2 separate regions of the Homo sapiens genome follow, and region 2 is linked to region 1. Evidence: promoter capture Hi-C in human tissues and cell types (Jung and others, 2019). All regions are on one chromosome and are shown on one strand. Each heading gives the region's core, a stretch centred on a gene start or on the middle of the fragment in contact. The rest is flanking DNA. Distances are from core to core; before and after follow the strand shown.

Region 1 (7,379 bases), core at 1,808-4,307:
CCAAAAAGATAGTGGCACTGAAGATGTGTGGTTCAAATGCTTGAAGGTGAAGGATCGTGGGAACAGGGGAAAATATGGAACGCTTCAGAGGGAACAGGGCCAAAATGTACATGAGTAGCATAGCTAAAACGAATACAGACTGGCTGGGCACGGTGGCTCACACCTGTAATTCTAGCACTTTGGGAGGCTGAGGCAAGAGGTTTGCTTGAGTCCAGGAGTTTCACACCAGCCTGGGCAATATAGTGAGACCTCATCTCTACAGAAAATACAAAAAATTAGCCAGTCACATGGTAACATGTGCCCGTAGTCCCAGCTACTCGGGAGGCTGAGGTGGGAGGATCACTTGAGCCTGTGAGATGGAGGTTGCTGTGAACTGAGATTGTGCCACTGCATTTCAGCCTGGTGACAGAGTGAGACGACCCTGTCTCCAAAAAAAAAAAAAAAAAAAAAAAAAAAAAAGGCTGGACACAGTGGCTCACGCCTGTAATCCCAACACTTTGGGAGGCTGAGGCAGGTGGATCACAAGGTCAGGAATTCGAGACCAGCCTGGCCAATATGTTGAAACCCTGTCTCTACTAAAAATACAAAAATTAGCTGGGTGTGGTGGCAGGTGCCTGTAGTCCCAGCTACTCGGGAGGCTGAGGGAGGAGAATCGCTTGAACCTGGGAGGCGGAGGTTGCAGTGAGCCAAGATCTTGCCACCGCACTCCAGCCTGGGCAACAGAGCGAGACTCCGTCTCAAAAAAAACCCGAAAAAACAAAAAAGGAATACAGACTTATGAACCAAATCCTAAACATTAGGGTCCTTTGCAACACTCTTTGAAACCAGAGCAAGGTTAATTTAAAACAGAAAGATGCTACTTTATATGATAGTCCGTACATTTCGGAAGATGAAATCTCAGCTGGTACAAGACAGATCAATGAACTTAGAAGGGGCCCAGATAGGGGCCCTTTCTGTGATTAACAGAGCTATGCATGGCAAGAGAGCCGCTGAATATTTAGCCTTTGAGGCTCTCAGCCAGGAAACAGAGCTCTGGGATGGCACTAGAATTTGAGCCAGTTGTCCTTTAGTGCAAGCCACACAGGCCCTTCATAGGGTGCTGAAAGGGCTGGGTGTCGTGGCTCACACCTGTAATCCCAGCACTTTGGGAGGCCGAGGTGGGTGGCTCACTTGAGGTCAGGAGTTCGAGACCAGCCTGGCCAACATGGTGAAACCCTGTCTCTCCTAAAAATACAAAAATTAGCCAGGTGTGGTGGAGCACACCTGTAGTCCCAGCTACTTGGGAGGCTGAGGCACGAGAATTGATTGAACCCGGGAGGCAGTGAGCCAAGATTGTGCTACTGCACTCCAGCCTGGGCAACAGAGGAGACTCCATCTCAAAAAAAAGGTGCTGAAGGAAAGAGACCTAAACCTGCCAATCCTTTGTCATGATCCCTCCTTTGCCATTTCATGCTCCCATCTCCAGCCCTTGCTCACTGCTTAGCCTTCCTCCTCTTCATTGTGTTATTCCTGTTCCTTAGGTTGGCCGTTGTCCAATGTGTTGCTGTTATCTGGAACTCCTACCTGTCCTGGAAGGCACATCGGCTCTAAGCCTGCCTCACTCCATCGTTTCCACCTTGCAGTGATGCAGCTTGACCCTGGAACGGTCAGACAACCTCCTCAAAGTGGGCATACCAGTTTCCACGGGGTTGGGTTGCCGGTCAGAGCTTAAGAGGACTAGCACCCTGCAATGCCCCTCTTCACTCTAAAATGTACACTGACTGCTTTAGAGCCCTTGATAATAGTCTTATTCCCACCACATACTAGGCACTCCATAAATATCTGTTGAACCTTCATGACCTTATCAACTTTACACCCATATCCCAGCAAATGCCACTCATCCCCACTCTTCATAGACACATTTGTTACTCTAACCCTGCCTAGGCTTCTTGTAGCTCCAGCTCTTTAGAGACTCCCGGAACCCTTTATATGGTGCCTCAGTAAATATGTTATTAAATATGTAATCCGGAATCTGCAGTGGTAATGAGTAAGTTTTTAAGCAGAAAACTATTGGGGAGTCATTTCTAGAGCTGGAAAGAAGCCAAGAGACCACCAAGCCCAATTTTTTTTTTTTTTTTTTTTTTTTTTTTTGAGACAGGGTCTTGCTCTGTCTCCCAGGCTGGAGTGCAGTGGCGCGATCTTGCCTCACTGCAGCTTCCGCCTCCTGGGTTCAAGCAGTTCTCCTGCCTCAGCCTCCTGAGTAGCTGGGACCACAGGCGCATACCGCCACGCCCGGCTAATTTTTGTATTTTTAGTAGAGATGGGGTTTCGCCATATTGGCCAGGCTGGTTTCAAACTACTGACCTCGTGATCCGCCTGCCTCGGCCTCCCAAAGTGTTGGGATTACAGGCGTGAGCCACCGCGCCTGGCCAAGCCCAGTCTTACAAATGAGGACCCTGAGGTTGGTAGGAGGGAGGTGACCTGTCCACACCAGGAGTTAGCAGAAACTTGAACCCATATTTCTTTGCTGCTCATGGGCAGAGTTACACTGCTGCTATGATTCCCAGGAGAGAAACTGAACTTTGCTAAACTACTTTGGCAAACTCAAAAGCAGATGGGCCAGCCATTTGTGGTCTGAAAGCACTCGGATGCTAGAGACCCTCTGTTACATGGTGCCTGTCAGACAGCCCTACAATTTGGATCCTGGGGCTGGAAAAAGATAAGAATGCTGGGAGACTTTGGTTGTGGCAGACTGCCTCTCAGTGGGTCCCACTGTGTTGGCTGAGTGCCAGCGGTGGACTCCTGATGCCTGCATTTGCAGAACTGATAGCTGCAGGGAGGCAGTGGGTTCCAGCGGCACAGCGTTCTCACATTTCTGGCCACTTCTAGAGGCAGAGGACGGGGTCAGCACCATGGACAGCCTCACGGTCCCGCCTCCCTTTCGTGTGTCAGAACACGCGACCCGGACTAGTCTGGTCTGGGGACGGCCCTAGTCATTGCTGGCTGTTCTAAGCGGGGCGAGGGACTCCCGTGGGTCCCAGAGCAGTCTTTACGCCCCAGCCGGCTTCTCGCTTTCCTGCGTCCAGTGCTGCTTCCAGCGCTAGCCCCAGGGGCACGAAGGCTGGTGTAGGGAGGTGCGCCCCTCCGGGGGCCCGCCAGCCGTCAGACTCGAAGCTGTGGCTGTCATTGCTTCTACAATCAGTGCATGTTCTTCGCTGACGTCAGTCGGAGCTGTCCTGGCACTATATAAGGCTGGCGACAGCCCCGGGACAGACCCTGTGTTCCCCAAGGCGTCTTCAGCCTGCCCCGAGGGACAGAGACTGGAGCTCAATCTTGGACCGTACAGACGCTCGCCGACAACCTGTGAGTGGCTCAGAGCGTCCGCCCAGCCTCCCCCTGCACCAGGACTCCGCTCAGCTCAGCCACCACGCTCCTCCGGGGAGGGAGGCTGGGTGGAAGGGATGGAACAGCACTGGCGCAGTGGCTGGGGCTGGAGGGCAGGCTGCGGGCATTGGGCGGCGGCCGGAGGGGTCGCCGGGCGAGCGCGGGGAGGGGAGCGGCGGCCTGCAGCTGTCCCAGGCGCACCTCACCCTGCGCTGCCCCTGTGTGTCCAGGGCCGGCGGCACCATGAGGCAGGCGGGACGCGCAGCGCTGCTGGCCGCGCTGCTGCTCCTGGTACAGCTGTGCCCTGGGAGCAGCCAGAGGAGCCCCGAGGCGGCCGGGGTCCAGGACCCGAGTCTGCGCTGGAGCCCCGGGGCACGGAACCAGGGTGGCGGGGCCCGCGCGCTCCTCTTGCTGCTGGCGGAGCGCTTCCCGCGCCGCGCGGGGCCCGGCCGATTGGGACTCGGGACGGCAGGCGAGCGGCCGCGGCGGGACAACCCTTCTCTGTCCATTGACCTCACCTTTCACCTGCTGCGGACCCTGCTGGAGCTGGCGCGGACGCAGAGCCAGCGGGAGCGCGCCGAGCAGAACCGCATCATATTCGACTCGGTGGGCAAGTGATGGCCCGGTTTGGGGCTGCGAAAACGTTGACCCCTTTCCCCCACCCCAGAGTTGGGATGCGGGGCAGAGCCACCAGGGCACTGTCTGCGTGACTATTTTTTAATAAAAGTACTGAAGACCCGTTGGCTTTTGTCGTAGAGGCAGGGCAGTCACAGCAGCGTGGGAACCCGTGGGAAGGTGGGGCCCCCGGGCCAGCGGGAGGGGAACAAAATGCTGTGGGGGGCTCCGAGACAGCGGCTTTCAGCCAGGTCAGCCAGGTGCATGTGGACCCCAAGGGTCCCCAAATCCCCAGGACCTCAGAGGTCCCGGCACCACCGCCCCGCCCTCGGCCCTCTTCCCAGGGCGCTGGGCTCACCAGTTCGCTCCTGGCATCACAGAGGTGCCCAATAGGGGTTCATTTGGCTTCCGCCCCCCAGACGGTCTCAGGTTCTGGGAAGGGCAGGATGGTGGGCGGGTCGCCTTCGAAGCCCAGGCTGCGGGGTTGGGCAGCGAAAGGAGATACGGGTCTGGGACGCTCGAGTTCTTTATTGAGATCCTCCCGGGGCCGGCGCCGATTTGGGTGATGCTGCGGTCTCTGCGCAGATCCTCCCCGACTCTAGCGCGGGCTCTCGAGCAGGGTCGGGTCGGCGCAGGCCTGTGCCCGGGAAAGAAGGCTCGGTGGGCGGGTGCTGCGAAGGCACGAGGCAGCTCGAGCCCCGCTCACTCCGTCCCCCGCCACGTGGGTTTCTCCTCTACTCAGCCTGCCTTGCCTGCCCTCCCAGCACCCCAGAGGAACAGCGGGTGAGGAGGAAAGTGTACTTTTCCGCCCTAGGGGGCGCGCCTTTGTGGCTCCGGGGTTGGGTTGCACCGAGGAGTGGGGGCTCCACGCTACCCGCAGGGAGGGCAATCACTGGGGGAGGGGACGCGAGCACACCAGCCAGGCCCCACCCCAAGCCCCTCAGGCCGCTCTCACCTTAAGGCCCATCGGGCGGCTCTCACCTTAAGGCCCATCCGGCCGCTCTTCCTCCGGCCCCGCGCTGCCCTCCTCTCCGTCTGGGGCCACCTCCTCTTCCTCCCCGGAAGCGCCTGAGCCCAAGGAAGGCCTGGTGAGGTGGAGTCCCTGCCTTTACGGCCATCGTGCCCGCCGCACCCCCCACACAGAGGGTCCGAACCCGTCTCAGCGGCCCTCGGCCACCTCCTTCACCTGGCTGGAAGTCGATGGTCCGCAGCATTTCGGCCACGTGCTCCACCCTTACGGTGAATTGCTCCATGCTCTCATAGCCTGGCTCCGGCCGCCCTGCCAGCTCCACCTTCGACATGGCCCCGACCCTGCAGTGGCCACACGGACTCAGCTGGCAATGCCCCAGCACTCTCAAGCCCCACCCCAGCCAGTGGAGCAGTGCAGCCCCCTCCTTTCCCTTCCCGCTATGCCTACTCACTTATTGATCAGCTCCTTGGCCTGCTGCAGGGAAGAAAAGGAGGGTGAGAGTAAGCACTGGGCCAACCTGGGCAAAGTCCCATTTCTGAATCTCACCACAGTCCTGCGGGGTAGGTGGGAAGGCACGTCCCAATTCGTTAAGCAGAAAACGAACTCAGAGGGGGTGACTTGCCCAAGGTCGTAGGGGCAAGCAGGTGCAAGAGACAAGACTTGAACCCGGGACTCCAGGTACCAAGGCCCTGACTCCAGCCACTGTGCAGCGCTGCCACCCTCCCCTAGAGCCCACCTGGAGATACAGCGCCATTTGTGGCTCTTCCATGGACTGGATGGCAGACTCCACCAGCTTAGAGGAGGCCTCCAGGTGGTCGCCATACTGACGGATGAGGCCGCGGACGCGCTGCAGCTTCTCCTCTTGCTCCCGGGCCAGCGCCTGCAGCAGCTCACCCTTGCGCTCCTCCAGCACTGCGCACAGGCTCTCAAACCTCTGGTTTAACAACTGCTTCTGCCTCCGGCTATTGTCCTAAAAGATGGGGAGCAAGGATGAGGGAAGGCGTGGCTGAGACCCGGTGGCTGGGAAAGCACAGGGTACTCACAGAGAACCAACACAGAAAGTGACCCATCCGTAGTGACACTGTGAGTTAGTGGCTGAGCCAGAACCCAGCCCAGATCTTTTCCATAATAAAAACACAATGCTTTAAAGTAGCTTCACTGATTGCTGTCTATATCCCTAGCCCTGGTTTTTATTTGCATTATTCCATTTAATTCTCAAAAAGAACCCATGAGGTAGCTGGTGTATCATTATCATCATCACTGTTTTATGAGGTTAAACAAAACCAAAGCACAGAGAAGTTAAATAACTGGATTAAAGTTTTGCGGCAAAGCTGGAATGCACACCCAGCAGCCTGGCAAAAGCACCTCCCACCACTCCCAGGACCCCAGAAACTTTCAGACCAGTTTGGCGAGAGGTCAGAGAGGAGCAGTTCTCTTGGGAGCCCGGGGTCCGCAGGCTAGCCAGTTGCTGTTCCTCCCTCCCTCCAGCCCAGGCTCACCTCGATAGTCTGGCACACCTCCTCCATCTGTGTGATCACTGCTTGCACGCGGTCATTGCCTGCCACCAGCATCGCGATGCCATCGCTGAGCTCACTCTGATACACACACAGGTCAGCACTCAGAGCTGGGACCTGGCCTAGAGCTACACCCCTCACCCCAGCCAGGGTTGCCTAGGAGAGGGCTGGCCCTTCCACCTCACCCCCCATAAGGGCATCTACAGCAATCTAGAAGGCTTGAACCATCAAGAGGTACGGAAGCACATTCTAGTGATTCTGGAAGGAGGTGGAGAGAAGCCCTCCACCACTAAGTGGGGAAGGAACAGACAGTCTCCAAACATCCACCAGATACCAGACACTGGGCTAGATACTTTATCTGTAGATTCATTTCTTGCATCGATTCTGAGAAAGTCTTCAAGATTATCCATTGGCATAATATTGCCTCTTCTCTATTCTCTTTATCCTCTCATTCTGGGAATCTGATTAGACCTGTTAGACCTTCTCACTCTCAGCCTTCTCATCATCTCCCAGAACTGCACGTTCTGTTTTTCTTTCAGTCCTCTCATACTGGTCACTAGTTCTGTTTTCAGACAAATCTATCATTCAATTCATTCGTTGATTTTTTTTTAAATTTTTTTTGAGACGGAGTCTTGCTCTGTCACCCAGGCTGGTCTCGAACACCAGGCCTTGTCCTCCTGCCTCAGCCTCCCTAGTCACTGGGTTTACAGGTTCCAGCCACCATGCCCAGCCATCTGTTGAATGTTTTATATCTATCTATCTATATATATATATATATCTGTATATCTATATCTATCTATCTATCTATCTATCTATATATATATATTTGAGACAAGGTCTCACTCTGTCACCAAGGCTGGAGTGCAGTGGCTCGATCTCAGTTCACTGCAGCCTCGACCTTCCAGGCTCAGGTGATC
Region 2 (7,296 bases), core at 4,175-6,674, 72 kb before region 1:
AGGCTTTTCCCTTGTTCTCTAGCCCTTGGGCTTTTCCTTTCTTTTTGTCCTCTAGCTGCTGCTGCTTATTTACTCTTGAAGAATTCTGTTCCTAAAACGAGCTTATTGGCCGCCTTTTAGACTTGCCTTATTATTCCTAGGCCTCTGAGCTGTTTTTATCTGTGAGTGTCTCTTAGTGTGGTGGCTCACACTCTTAATTTGTATTCCATCCTTGTGCTCAGGATTGTATATAGGGAGTTCATTTTGTACTAGTCTTAGACTATTTTGCTTATATTCAGGCTTTAGAAGATGCCTTCTTGGCTATTGACGCCAAATTGACCACTGAAGAAGTCATTAAAGAGCTGGCACAGATTGCAGGGCGACCCACTGAGGATGAAGATGAAAAAGAAAAAGTAGCTGATGAAGATGATGGTGAGTGTGGCATCCCTTGTTTGAGGGGAAATCAGCATTTTAAGAAATATTCTTTAATATTACTTATCAATTCTAAGATAGGATGGCTTTCTAGGGACCTGGGGAGTCCTTATGTTAAAGAAACCTATGATGTTCTCCTGCATTGTATGTGGTTATGAAAAGGAGGGAGAGAATTATCTTCGTTGAGTGGCATCTGAGCTGTAAGCATTGTATATACATTATCTTTTGTCATTGTGATGGGGTCTTCCTGGTTCCTGCTAGTATTTATGTGCTTTTTTTTCCCCTCAAGACTGGAGCAGTTATTAGCCCCAATAGCCAATCATTAAGCCTAAATCCTAATTCACAGTAGCATTGTGGGCTTCCTGGATCCTCAGCCAGAATAGGGTTTTTACAACTTAACAATAAAAAATGAGACGTCAGAGGGGAAGTATAGTAACTAGTGTTGTTTTGATTAAGAAGGGGATGAAACACAAAAACCAAAAGAAGTCTGTGGAGGAGGAGGAGCTAGGGCATGTTCTTCTGAGACTTGAGCGAGAGGAACCTTGGGAGTGGGAGGTTGTGGGGAAGTTAGAGGCTGCAAGGGCTGTTGAGGTAGTGAGAGGGACGGATCCCATGAGGAGTCTGGCATGGGGGCTCTGATTTAGCCTCTTCCCTGCAGTGGACAATGAGGAGGCTGCACTGCTGCATGAAGAGGCTACCATGACTATTGAAGAGCTGCTGACACGCTACGGGCAGAACTGTCACAAGGGCCCTCCCCACAGCAAATCTGGAGGTGGGACAGGCGAGGAACCAGGGTCCCAGGGCCTCAATGGGGAGGCAGGACCTGAGGACTCAACTAGGGAAACTCCTTCACAAGAAAATGGCCCCACAGCCAAGGCCTACACAGGCTTTTCCTCCAACTCGGAACGTGGGACTGAGGCAGGCCAAGTTGGTGAGCCTGGCATTCCCACTGGTGAGGCTGGGCCTTCCTGCTCTTCAGCCTCTGACAAGCTGCCTCGAGTTGCTAAGTCCAAGTTCTTTGAGGACAGTGAGGATGAGTCAGATGAGGCGGAGGAAGAAGAGGAAGACAGTGAGGTAAGGGCCTGTGAGGGCAGGCAGATGCTGAAGTTGCAGAGAGGTCCTGTTTGGTTGCCGTCTGTAGTTTTCAACTCTCTTTCCTTCTCCTATTTTGACATCATCCCCCAAGACCCACTGTATTCTAAGCTTTAGTCTTGAATTCATTGAGCTCCATCATCACAGGTACCATTTGCCTTTTTACCTCTTCCTTTGTTGGTACTATAACAAGCAGATCTAGTTCTGGCTTTTCAGAGTCTGTCTCCTAGAGAGAGAACAAGGAGATAGTTGTTACCTTGGCTAGTTGACTGTTTTCTTCTCTGGAAAATTTATTTTCTGGCCACAGTGCCTGAAAGATATTTTTGGCTGGCAGCCCTTGCCTTGTCCTGGGCTTTTTGCTAGTGACTGCTAAGCCCAGTTCAGGATGTCAGTTGTACTCATGCTAGCCCTTTCCATCCCCCCAATTTTCATGACCATATACTTGTATCTTTCAGTGTTTTGAGGACCTGTGTTCAGTCAGGACCTCTTGATTCTGAGTATGAGCTGTGGGGAGGGAGGGGATCATCCCAGTCTCAGCAGTCTGGGATCCTCCCCCTGGCAGGAATGCAGCGAGGAAGAGGATGGCTACAGCAGTGAGGAGGCAGAGAATGAGGAAGATGAGGATGACACCGAGGAGGCTGAAGAGGACGATGAAGAAGAAGAAGAAGAGATGATGGTGCCAGGGATGGAAGGCAAAGAGGAGGTGTGTGGGGAAGGGGAGCAATGAGTCTTGAAAAGCCACAAGGCAGGTGTGAATCCCCTAATTTTGATTTTGAGACAGGGGATCCCCCTGATACTTTAGGATGGAAGTAATAGTCATGGGGATTTATTCTGCAAGGGGAATGAGATGGTAAGCCTTTGGGGTTGAATTATCTAAAAACAAGGGAGAGGGAGTGTGCTGCTGTCTCTAGAAAGATGAAATGTGTGCTTCTCCTGTTTGTTAAAGCTCTTTTGGGGGTCCCAGTGAAAGCAAGCATAGGTGAACGATCAGGAGCACATCAGTGAGGAACGCATGTTCAGAAGCCCCCATGATGCTCCTTTTCTTCCTCTTAAGCCTGGCTCTGACAGTGGTACAACAGCGGTGGTGGCCCTGATACGAGGGAAGCAGTTGATTGTAGCCAACGCAGGAGACTCTCGCTGTGTGGTATCTGAGGCTGGCAAAGCTTTAGACATGTCCTATGATCACAAACCAGAGGATGAAGTAGAACTAGCACGCATCAAGAATGCTGGTGGCAAGGTCACCATGGATGGGCGAGTCAACGGGGGCCTCAACCTCTCCAGAGCCATTGGTAAGGGCCAAGAAACTGGGAAAGACTTCTAGGGTCTTTCTCTCTGTCCCAGACTACCTAGTAGCAAACTTTAATCTTCCTAGTGCTTGTGCCTTTCAAAGCACTTTAATATCTACTACCTCTGTTCTTATATTTCTGTGAAATAACTAAGATGGGTAGAGGTATCATTATACATAGGTATCATTATACCCATCTTATGTAACATTTGAATGATGAAAAAGACCTGTGAGTGCCGGGCGTGGTGGCTCACGCCTGTAATCCCAGCACTTTGGGAGGCTGAGGCTGGTGGATCGCCTGAGGTCAGGAGTTCGAGGCCAGCCTGGCCAACATGGTGAAACCCCATCTCTACTAAAAAAAAAAAAAAATACAAAAATTAGCTGGGCATGGTAGTGCAAGCCTGTAATCCCAGCTACTCAGGAGGCTGAGGCAGGAGAACCGCTTGAATCCGGGAGGCGGAGGTTGTAGTGAGCCGAGATCGTGCCATTACACTCCAGCCTGGGCTACAAGAGTGAAACTCCGTCTCAAAAAAAAAAAAACAAAAAAGACTTAAAATAAAAAGACCAGTGAGTGACTTTCTTAAGGTTCAGCAGTCTGGTGGCAGGGTTGAAACTAGAAAAACTAGGACTTAGGACTCAGTTCCCCATTCCACTAGATTATGGAACTTTGTAAAGAAGGGAAATGAATGGCAAGGTTTGACCTGCCACAAACACAAGTCTGTGGGAAGTATCCAAACTGCTCATCAACCATTCCTTTACTCCAGGGGACCACTTCTATAAGAGAAACAAGAACCTGCCACCTGAGGAACAGATGATTTCAGCCCTTCCTGACATCAAGGTGCTGACTCTCACTGACGACCATGAATTCATGGTCATTGCCTGTGATGGCATCTGGTGAGCACTGGCAGAATGCCCTAAATTCCCCTTTCTGCAGCATGTCTTCTCTTATAGGACTCAGGGCACCTCTAGGATTAGAGCCTAGGCAGACCTAGGCCTCTTGGTGGGTGAAGAGCACCCAGACTAAGGCAGAGCTGAGAATTTCTGTAGTTATTTACACTGGCCTGGGCCACCACCTCTGTCCATACTCCTCTACGCTGCCTTAGTGAGACTGGAAGATTCTGACTGTTGTTCTTGACCCCAGGAATGTGATGAGCAGCCAGGAAGTTGTAGATTTCATTCAATCAAAGATCAGCCAGCGTGATGAAAATGGGGAGCTTCGGTTATTGTCATCCATTGTGGAAGAGGTGAGTACCAGGGTGGAGAAGAGAGGGTGTCTGGTCTGCACAGCCAGGGTTCACTCTTTTAATCTGAGCTAAGTCGGCAATCTGGGAGCATTATCAGTAATTGCTGACAGACGCTAAACCCCGACTCCAAAGTTCCACCTTCTGTCATTTCCCTGACTTAGCCTTATGCCTTATGGACTAGCAGGTGGGCCGTTGTGTGATACCTCTTGCCCATTCCTCTCCTACCACCCTGACTCAGCAAGCCAGCCCTCTTGTGGGACTGTAGATTCCTGGCAAGGTGTTCAAACCCTGTGGCTGAGCTACCCCCATCCCTTTCTTAGCTGCTGGATCAGTGCCTGGCACCAGACACTTCTGGGGATGGTACAGGGTGTGACAACATGACCTGCATCATCATTTGCTTCAAGCCCCGAAACACAGCAGAGCTCCAGCCAGAGAGTGGCAAGCGAAAACTAGAGGAGGTGCTCTCTACTGAGGGGGCTGAAGAAAATGGCAACAGCGACAAGAAGAAGAAGGCCAAGCGAGACTAGCAGTCATCCAGACCCCTGCCCACCTAGACTGTTTTCTGAGCCCTCCGGACCTGAGACTGAGTTTTGTCTTTTTCCTTTAGCCTTAGCAGTGGGTATGAGGTGTGCAGGGGGAGCTGGGTGGCTTCACTCCGCCCATTCCAAAGAGGGCTCTCCCTCCACACTGCAGCCGGGAGCCTCTGCTGTCCTTCCCAGCCGCCTCTGCTCCTCGGGCTCATCACCGGTTCTGTGCCTGTGCTCTGTTGTGTTGGAGGGAAGGACTGGCGGTTCTGGTTTTTACTCTGTGAACTTTATTTAAGGACATTCTTTTTTATTGGCGGCTCCATGGCCCTCGGCCGCTTGCACCCGCTCTCTGTTGTACACTTTCAATCAACACTTTTTCAGACTAAAGGCCAAAACCTAATCGTACGCATCGTGTCCTTTTTTTTCTGCTGCCGTGGCCCCCGACTTGGTCCCATCTGTAGCATGTGGCGAGCCCCCATGTGAGTGTGTGCGTGTGCTCGTGTGTGTCCTGCGCGTGTATAGGAGAGCCCAGAGCGAGCTGCTGGTAGGCCGGCCTGGCGGGCGTCGCGGCTGCCCCTCGCCCCCTCCTGCAGCCAGAAATGATCTAGTTCCCCCAGGGACAGGTTGGGACCGGTCTGGCTGGCCTGAAGCCTGGAGTCGGGCAGGACGCCTCCTGCGCTGCTCCCTGGCCGGCTCCCCGCTGCCGCTGATTGGCTTGCTCCCCGCCTCGTCACAATCACTTCCCGGTCACGCCATTGAGGCTCCCGCCGCGGCCGCTTCCCACGGACTACGCGTCCCGTGCGTCTCTGCGGCGGCGGAAGCGGAAGCGAGTACGGAGGTACCAGCTGGTCTCCGTAGGGGGGTAGGGGGCTCCATGAATGGAAGCGGCGGCGGCGGCGGGAGCGGCCTGAGCTGGGCGCCGGGGCCAGGGCCGGGGGCTGCCCAGGGCCCGCGCCGCTGCATGGGGGCGGCCCGCGGGCCCTGAGAGGAAGGGCAGACAGGCGGGCCGAGATAGGAGGGGCGGGGTCGGGCGGCCGCAGGCCGGAGGCGCGTCGGGCTGGAGCCGGTCACGATGCCCCGAAGGAAGCAAAGCCACCCGCAGCCCGTGAAATGCGAGGGGGTCAAAGGTCAGGGGTCAGGGGCCTTGAGGGGAGAGGAGCGGGGGTGGGGTCAGTGGAGTGGGCTCAGGTCAGGGTGGAGGGGGACTCCTGAGGGATGAAGTGGGCGATCCAGACTCCTAGCTTCCCACCGAGGCACTAAGGGAATCAGAGTGGGTCAGCGAGTACGGGAAGTGTGGTCCACGAGGGCTGGTTCCTGAGGGAGAATCCACAAGCCCCCTCCCCTCTTCAGTGGATACTGAAGACTCCCTCGACGAAGGACCCGGGGCCCTGGTATTGGAGAGTGATTTGCTACTAGGCCAGGATCTGGAGTTTGAGGAGGAAGAGGAAGAGGAGGAAGGCGACGGCAACAGTGACCAGCTCATGGGCTTCGAGAGAGACTCGGAAGGTGGGTTTTCGGGTCTTGGTTAAGGATTAGCGGCCGCTGGAGACCCCAGCCCTTCAGGAGGCAGGTTAGGTGAACAGAACACCATTTCCTGCCACAACCGAGGGCTGGTTTAGTTTACATTTGAGCTAGATGACTTCATTTGTTTAATGGTCCAATCACTTCCATCACTTTGTTGAGGTGAAGTTCTGAGGCCTGGTCAAAGGTGATAGGAATAGGAGGGTGGGTGAATCACATGGAGCAACTGATTAAAAGTAAATGCCCTGTCTCTCTCCCTAGCCCATTCCTTATGTGTATTTACTTTTAAGAGAGGTTCAGGGAAGCAAACTCTCTGTAAATCATTCAACCCAGTATTTAGGTCTAATCTAACTCCCTTTCACCTGCAGCGTAAGCTCCTTTTGTATTGAGAGGTTTTAGTTTCTGTCTTTATCCTTCCATGTCCCTCTTCCCTGTGATCTTAGCATCACCCTACCCTAATTTGCTGCACTACCCATCCACTTATGCAAGATGTTTTTTGAAAGTCATTGAGGGGATCCATGTAAATATCTGTTCTTTAGGCAGGCAAGTGGTATTACATGCATTACTTTCATTGTCTCCACTTCCCTCCAAATTTTGCCTCAGAGATAGGTTTTATTTTATATCAGCTCCTTACTAAAAGGGGCCTTAGCAATAGAGCTTAGAAAAAGGTCTTGGGGGCTCTCTCCCTTTCGTATTTTTACTTTCTTGTCTCAAGAATTAATTTCATTATGGATTCATTTCAGTCTGTGATCCACTGTGAGCCCTTGATCCTTGACCATTGAGGGAAACTAGATACAGGTCAATTCTACCATCACTAGATTAGTCCAGTGTAAGAGGTAGACAATTCATGTTGAATTTTCTGGAATTACTGCAGGGGAGACCTTGATTCCTAGGAGGGAACTAAAGGGATCATCAAAGCTAAGGGTGGAGCCAAGCAAGTGGGGAGACCATAAGTGAAAAGGGGAGAGTTTGGAGCCTGATCCTACCCTATGCTGATGTCTCTTCTTATGTCTATTTCACCAGGAGACTCTCTGGGGGCCAGGCCTGGGCTTCCCTATGGGCTGAGCGACGATGAGTCTGGGGGCGGCCGGGCACTAAGTGCGGAGAGTGAAGTTGAGGAGCCAGCCAGGGGTCCAGGGGAGGCCAGGGGTGAGAGGCCAGGCCCAGCCTGCCAGCTGTGTGGGGGGCCGACAGGTGAGGGGCCGTGTTGTGGGGC

Evidence for each region. Contacts are between HindIII fragments. The study calls those that stand out against the background at their distance.
Region 2: the fragment with the promoter of ZNF513 here is called in contact with the fragment with the promoter of UCN in region 1 in 1 of the 25 tissues and cell types used here (adrenal gland).

Annotation. Positions count from the first base shown.
Region 1 is chr2:27,304,123-27,311,501 of GRCh38, reverse strand. It overlaps UCN (urocortin), which reads left to right and starts at 3,057. Exons shown (of 2, transcript NM_003353.4): 1 at 3,057-3,342; 2 at 3,594-4,102. The coding sequence starts at 3,607. The coding sequence ends at 3,981. TRIM54 (tripartite motif containing 54) reads right to left here. Exons shown (of 9, transcript NM_187841.3): 4 at 6,448-6,543; 5 at 5,685-5,918; 6 at 5,400-5,422; 7 at 5,165-5,289; 8 at 4,960-5,046; 9 at 4,067-4,615. The coding sequence ends at 4,961. MPV17 (mitochondrial inner membrane protein MPV17) reads left to right here. Exons shown (of 8, transcript NM_002437.5): 8 at 1,521-2,010. The coding sequence ends at 1,590. The HindIII fragment of the contact is 27,300 bases long and covers 1-7,379 here.
Region 2 is chr2:27,378,862-27,386,157 of GRCh38, reverse strand. It overlaps ZNF513 (zinc finger protein 513), which reads left to right and starts at 5,424. Exons shown (of 4, transcript NM_144631.6): 1 at 5,424-5,686; 2 at 5,910-6,065; 3 at 7,104-7,296. The coding sequence starts at 5,632. It overlaps PPM1G (protein phosphatase, Mg2+/Mn2+ dependent 1G), which reads left to right. Exons shown (of 10, transcript NM_177983.3): 4 at 279-411; 5 at 1,070-1,485; 6 at 2,066-2,206; 7 at 2,558-2,792; 8 at 3,553-3,682; 9 at 3,930-4,032; 10 at 4,353-4,959. The coding sequence ends at 4,559. RefSeq lists a silencer at 5,452-5,671 and an enhancer at 6,812-7,296. The HindIII fragment of the contact is 10,400 bases long and covers 2,141-7,296 here.